2 separate regions of the Homo sapiens genome follow, and region 2 is linked to region 1. Evidence: promoter capture Hi-C in human tissues and cell types (Jung and others, 2019). All regions are on one chromosome and are shown on one strand. The core of a region is centred on a gene start or on the middle of the fragment in contact, and the rest is flanking DNA. Distances in the headings are between cores, read along the strand shown. Region 1 holds the start of RRP1 (ribosomal RNA processing 1). Region 2 has its middle 4.2 kb from the start of TRAPPC10.

The links. The method cuts DNA at HindIII sites, captures the fragments that hold promoters and counts their contacts. A contact is called where the count stands out against the background at its distance.
Region 2: a contact is called between a fragment that was not itself captured here and the fragment with the promoter of RRP1 in region 1, in 1 of the 25 tissues and cell types used here (dorsolateral prefrontal cortex).

What each region holds. Positions count from the first base shown.
Region 1 is chr21:43,788,321-43,791,173 of GRCh38, reverse strand. It overlaps RRP1 (ribosomal RNA processing 1), which reads right to left and starts at 1,597. Exons shown (of 13, transcript NM_003683.6): 1 at 1,412-1,597. The coding sequence starts at 1,544. RefSeq lists silencers at 1,187-1,356, 1,567-1,796 and an enhancer at 1,427-1,536. The HindIII fragment of the contact is 35,062 bases long and covers 1-2,853 here.
Region 2 is chr21:44,006,591-44,009,530 of GRCh38, reverse strand. No RefSeq gene overlaps it. Among named protein-coding and RNA genes, the nearest start is that of TRAPPC10, 4.2 kb to the left of the region's middle. The HindIII fragment of the contact is 5,883 bases long and covers 1-2,940 here.

The DNA of each region.
Region 1 (2,853 bases), core at 348-2,847:
CGCCTGTGGCTATGCGGCTACTCCAGGTAACTGCTACTTCACGCACACAGTAAAACCGACTGAGATCTACAAGGTATCAGGCACCATACTCCATTTTGGAAATTCAAAATTGCGAACCTTGACGGTTTCCTAAGCTGGACAGTGGCCACAAGGTTAATCTGTTGGTGATAATTCATCCAGCATTATACTGAGGGCTTCTGCACTCTCCTGTAATATATCTCAAATACTAAAAGAAGAAAGTGAACTCAGGCATTCAGACTACGAGAGAAACAGAAATTACTGAGGCCAGGTGCGGTGGCTCACGCCTGTACTCCCAGCACTTTGGAATTGAGTGCTGAGGCAGGATCACTTGAGGCCAGGAGTTCAAGACCAGTCTGGGCAACATAGGAAGACCCCAATTTGTACAAAAAATACAAAACTTAGCTGGCCTGGCCGCACGGTGCCAGTAGTCCCAGCTATTGGGGAGGCTGAGATGGGAGGCTCACTTGAGCCTGGGAGGTAGAGGCTGCAGTGAGCTGTAATCGTGCCAATGCACTCCTCCACCACGGATGACAGTGAGGTCTGTCTCACTCAGAAAAATAACAAAAAATTTTAATTTAAAACATTACTCAGTTGACATTCACTGAAGTCCTATGTGTCTGGCAACCTGTTCCTGCAGCAGTGGTTCTCAGGCTGAGTGTGGGGAGCAGAAGCACTTGAACAGCTTCATAAAGCAGATGCCAGTCCTGATTTAGTAGGGCTGGGATCCTAGAACTTGCATTTCTTTCTTTTCTTTTGCGATGGAAATGGAGTCTTGCTATGTTGCCCAGGCTGGACTCCTGGGCCTTTGTGATCCTCCCACATCGACGTGCCAAGTAGCTGGGATTACAGGCTTGGGCCACTGCGCCCGGCATAGAACGTGTATTTCTAACAAATGTCCAGGGGATGCTACTGCTGATGGGGGACCACGCTCGGAGAACCACCTGGTACCATGAACAAGAAGTAGATTCTCGGCCCTCAGAGAGGTACTCTCGAGTGGAAATCGGAAAACAATCCAATAATTAACGCAAAACAGAAAACTGCAAACAGTGGGAAATGCTGCCATGAGGGAAAAATACTGGGTGCCCAAACAGCAGGGCAGCAGGAGTACATGGTCTACTGGAGGGAGGGGACGCCTGAGCTAGGAAAGGGGTTACGGGGCTGGGGAGGAGCGTTCTCGCAGAGGGACCAGAGTCACCGCACCACGAGGGAAAGCGGCGGCGGGGGCCGTGGGCCGGTAACAGCGGGAACAGGCCAGTGGACCCCGCCTGCCCGGCCCGGCCACGTGGAGGTTCCACAGGGCTCGGAGGGCCCCCAGCTCCGGCCGCCGCCGCCCACACCCGCACCAGCCCAGCCGGCCCCCGAGACGCCAGCCGCCCACACCCCCGCCAACCTGCGGCCCGCTGAGTCCTGGCGACGATGTATTTCCGGAGCTTCCTCACCGCCCGGTCCCGGGTCACCTGCTCATTCCCCGCCAGGCGCTGAGCCAGCTGGATCTCAGGCGGGAGCTGCACGCGCGAAACCATGACGCCGACGGCCGAGACCCCCTGTCCCGGAGTCGCCTGGTACCCAGCACACTGAGCACGCGCCTCCTGCGCCCGCCTCCTCCTGGCCCCGGCGCGTGGCGTGACGTCACAGCCCGCGACACCGCCCAGGCGCACGCCACCGCCGCGCAGTGGCCGAGCCGCGCAACTGCAGCCCCCGGAGGCCGAAGGCTACAGAGGGGGCGCGCGCTCCCTGCCTGTGCGCATGGGCGGAACCAGCGAGCGCGCGCCTGCGCCTGCGCCTGCGCCTCGCTGGGGCTGCGGTGGGTCGGGATTCTGAGGCAAAGATCTGTTGTTTTTTAATCTCATTTTATTTATAACCCCACTTGTATTTTTTTCCTGAGACAGGGTCTCGCTCTGTTACCCACGCTGGAGTGCAAGGCGCGATCTCGGCTCACTGCAGCCTTTGCCTCGCGGGCTCCAGGGATCCCCCAGCCTCAGCCTCCCGAGGAGCTGGGACCACGGGCGCCACCACTCTCGGCTCGAAACTTTATTTTTAAAACCAGGGGTGTGCCGGGCGCGGTGGCTCACGCCTGTAATTCCAGCACTTTGGGAGGCTGAGGCGGGTGGATCACGAGGTCAGGAGTTTGAGACCAGCCTGACCAACATGGTGAAACCCTGTCTCTACTAAAAATACAAAAATTAGCCAGGCGTAGTGGCGGGCGCTTGTAATCCCAGCTACTCAGGAGGCTGAGGCAGGAGAATTGCTTGAATCCGGGAGGCGGAGGTTGCAGTGAGTCGAGATTGCGCCGCTGCACTCCAGCCTGGGCGACAGAGTGAGACTCTGTCTCAAAAAACAACAACAAAAAAAAAAACGGGGAGGCTGCATTTGGCCTAGGGCCACAGTTTGACATACCCTGAAGTAGAAAAATATTCTTTATTTTTAGAAATAACTGCAGAACTCTTTGGTAAAGGTGACCTGTCATGATGTCTGTAATTCATTCTGCAAAAAAGTAAATCATTACACGCACATATGTGTATGCAGATAAGCAACTATGGCACACTGTTAACAGTTGTGGCGTTGGCCGGGCGCGGTGGCTCACGCCTGTAATCCCAGCACTTTGGGAGGCCGAGGCGGGCGGATCATGAGGTCAGGAGATCGAGACCATCCTGGCTAACACGGTGAAACCCCGTCTCTACTAAAAACACAAAAAATTAGCTGAGCGTGGTGGCGGGCGCCTGTAGTCCCAGCTACTCAGGAGGCTGAGGCAGGAGAATGGCGTGAACCCCGGAGGCGGAGCTTGCAGTGAGCCGAGATCGCGCCACTGCACCCCAGCCTGGGTGACAGAGT
Region 2 (2,940 bases), core at 222-2,721, 220 kb before region 1:
GCCATCAACACATGTGGCTTGTGAGCCAGAGGTTGCCAGTCCCTCCCCTAGAATAAGGACTACTCCAGGCCCGCCTTAACAACGTCTAAAGCAAAACCCTGACCCGATCCACAAGACGGTCAGAGTTTGGAGGTTAAGTCCTGCCAAGTAAGAGGGGCCTGGGAGACACCTGGGACATTGCTCAGTAAACAGAGCCTAAAGCTAAGCCTACACAGCCCAGCATGGTACGTCCAGTAATGGAACTACAAACTAGAACGAAAGTCAGGATTTTTCAGTGGAAGAGCACCCTGAGTCTCCCTCATTTGTTATTTATCAGTGTTGAATATACACTAAAAAAACAAAAATCACTAAACATACAAAGAAAGAGGAAAACGTAAGCCATAGTTAAGAAAAAAAAAAAGCAGTTAACAGAAACCAATCCCCCTACAATGAACCAGATTCTGTATTTACAAAGATTCTAAAGCAGCTCTACATATGTCCAAAGGAGGCTGGGCACGGTGGCTCACACCTGTAATCCCAGAAATTTGGGAGGCCGAGGTGGGCAGATCACTTGAGCCCAGGAGTTTGAGATCAGCCTGGCCAACATGGTGAAACCCCATCTCTACTAAAAACACAAAAATTAGCTGGGTGTGGTGGCGCACGCCTGTAGCCCCAGCTACTCGGAAAGCTGAAGCAGGAGAATCGCTTGAATCCGGGAGGTGGAGGTTACAGTGAGCCAAGATAGTGCCACTGCACTCCAGCCTGGGTGACAGAGCAAGACTCCATCTCAAAATAAATAAAAATAATATGTCCAAAGGATTAAATGAAAATATTGTCTTAATGAGTAAAGAATCAGAAATTCACAGCAGAATAACAAAGTATCTAAAAGAATCAAAAGAAAAGTCTAGAACTGAAAAGTACAATAACAGAAATGAAAATTTCACTGAATTGGATTAACAGATTGGAGAAAACAGGAGTTTGGGATCTTGAAGGCAGATGGATAGAAATTATTTAATCTGAAGAAGAGAAAAAAGTTGAAGAAAAGTGGAGAGAACCTCAGAGACCTATGGGACAGTATGAAATGGCCAAAAGCATGTGTGATCGGAGCTCCAGAAGGAGAGTATGAGTCTAGGAAGGAAACATTTTTGCAAAATGATGGCTCCAAATCCAAACACGTGGTGAAAAATACTGATTTACAGATCAAGAAATTCAGCAAAACCTGAAGAGAACACATACAAAGAAAATTACATGCAGGCATATCATACTCAAACTGGTGAAATAGATCAAGAGAAAAAAAATGTTTTGGTGGGGGGACAGGGTCTTGCTCTGTCGCCCAGGCTGGCGTGCAGGGGCACAGTCACGGCTCACTGTAGCCTCAGTCTTCTGGCTTCAAGCCATCCTCCCACTACAGCCTCCCAAGTAGCTGGGACCACAGGCACGTACCACCATGCCAGCTAATTTTTTAATTTTTTGTAGAGACGGCAGGGGGTCTTCCCCAGGCTGGCCTTGAACTCCTGACCTTAGGTGATCTGCCCACCTTGGCCTCCCAAAGTGCTGGGTTACAGGCATAAGCCACTGCACCCGGCCCTTCTCATAATTTCTTTAAGAGACCACTGACTGTTTAAAACAAACAATAGCTTGTGATACTTCTACAGTGTGTGTAGAAGTAAAAGGTAAGGACAGTGTGAAGGATGGATGGTGAGAGGTAACCCACTGATAAGCTCCTCACACTGTGAAGTGTGGAACTCCAGGTGTGAGGTGCAAGATGCAAAGGGTTATGTATGAAGAGGGAAGACTGAAGTGATACAATATTGACCCTACATTAAATTTGATATGTGAGGCATACGTAGTCTGTGCCCAGGAGAAAAAGCACTAGGGAAAAAATGAACAAAAGGGGTTTGGCTAAGAAGCCAATAAAGAAAAGAGAAATAATAGAAAATATCTGACTAATCCAAAAGAAGTCAGGGAAAGAACAACAGGAGAAAGACAGAAAGGACCAGTTATGTCAGGAAAAGACACTCAGCGCTCATTAGACATCAGGGAAATGCAAGTTAAAATGAAAATGAGATGCCACTTCACATGTACTCAAATCGATAAAATTTAAATTTATAATTAAAAACCCTGACGAGGCCAGGCACGGTGGCTCATGCCTGTAATCCCAGTGCTTTGGGAGGCTGAGGTGGGCCTCAGGAGTCAGGAGTCCGAGACCAGCCTGGCCAACATGGTAAAACCCCGTCTCTACTAAAAATACAAAAAATTAGCCAGGCGTGGTGGCGTGCACCTGTAATCCCAGCTACTTGGGAGGCTGAAGCAGGAGAATCGCTTGAACCCGGGAGGCGGAGGTTGCAGTGAGCCGAGATTGCACCACTGCGCTCCAGCCTGGGGAACAGAGCTAGACTCTGTCTCAAAAAACAAAAAATAAGTAAATAAAAAATAAAAACCCGACAATACCAAGTGTAGACTCCAAGCCGAGGAATATCTATGTCTTTGTACTGTTCTCACAGAGAACTGAGTCCAGCTGCTCTGAGAAGACAGACACTAGCCATTCCCCTTCCCGAAGACGTGGACACAGCGTTGTGCGGCTGGATGGGCTCCCACGTTAGGGAGTGTTCTTTCTGGAGGAAGGGAGGCAAAGGCAGAATCCCCTCCTCCAATCCCACCGGCTCTGGTCCAGGCAGCCTTTGGTGCGTGGGCAGTAAGTGGACTGCAAGCCTATTTTCCCTCTGAGCAGACCTATAAGAGATTTTTTTTTTCCACTTGGGAATTTAGAAAATGCTTGAATTCAGCACAAACACTGGTTTGGCACTTTCTTTTAATGAATCATGGTGAAATGATGCTAGTCCTGTCAATCGATGTTCATTCTTTTTTTTTTTTTTTTAGTACCTTTTTTCATGAGGCAGCATTTGGGGTGTTTTTTATTTTGTTTTATTGTTTTTGAAAAGTTGCTGGAACTTGAACTCA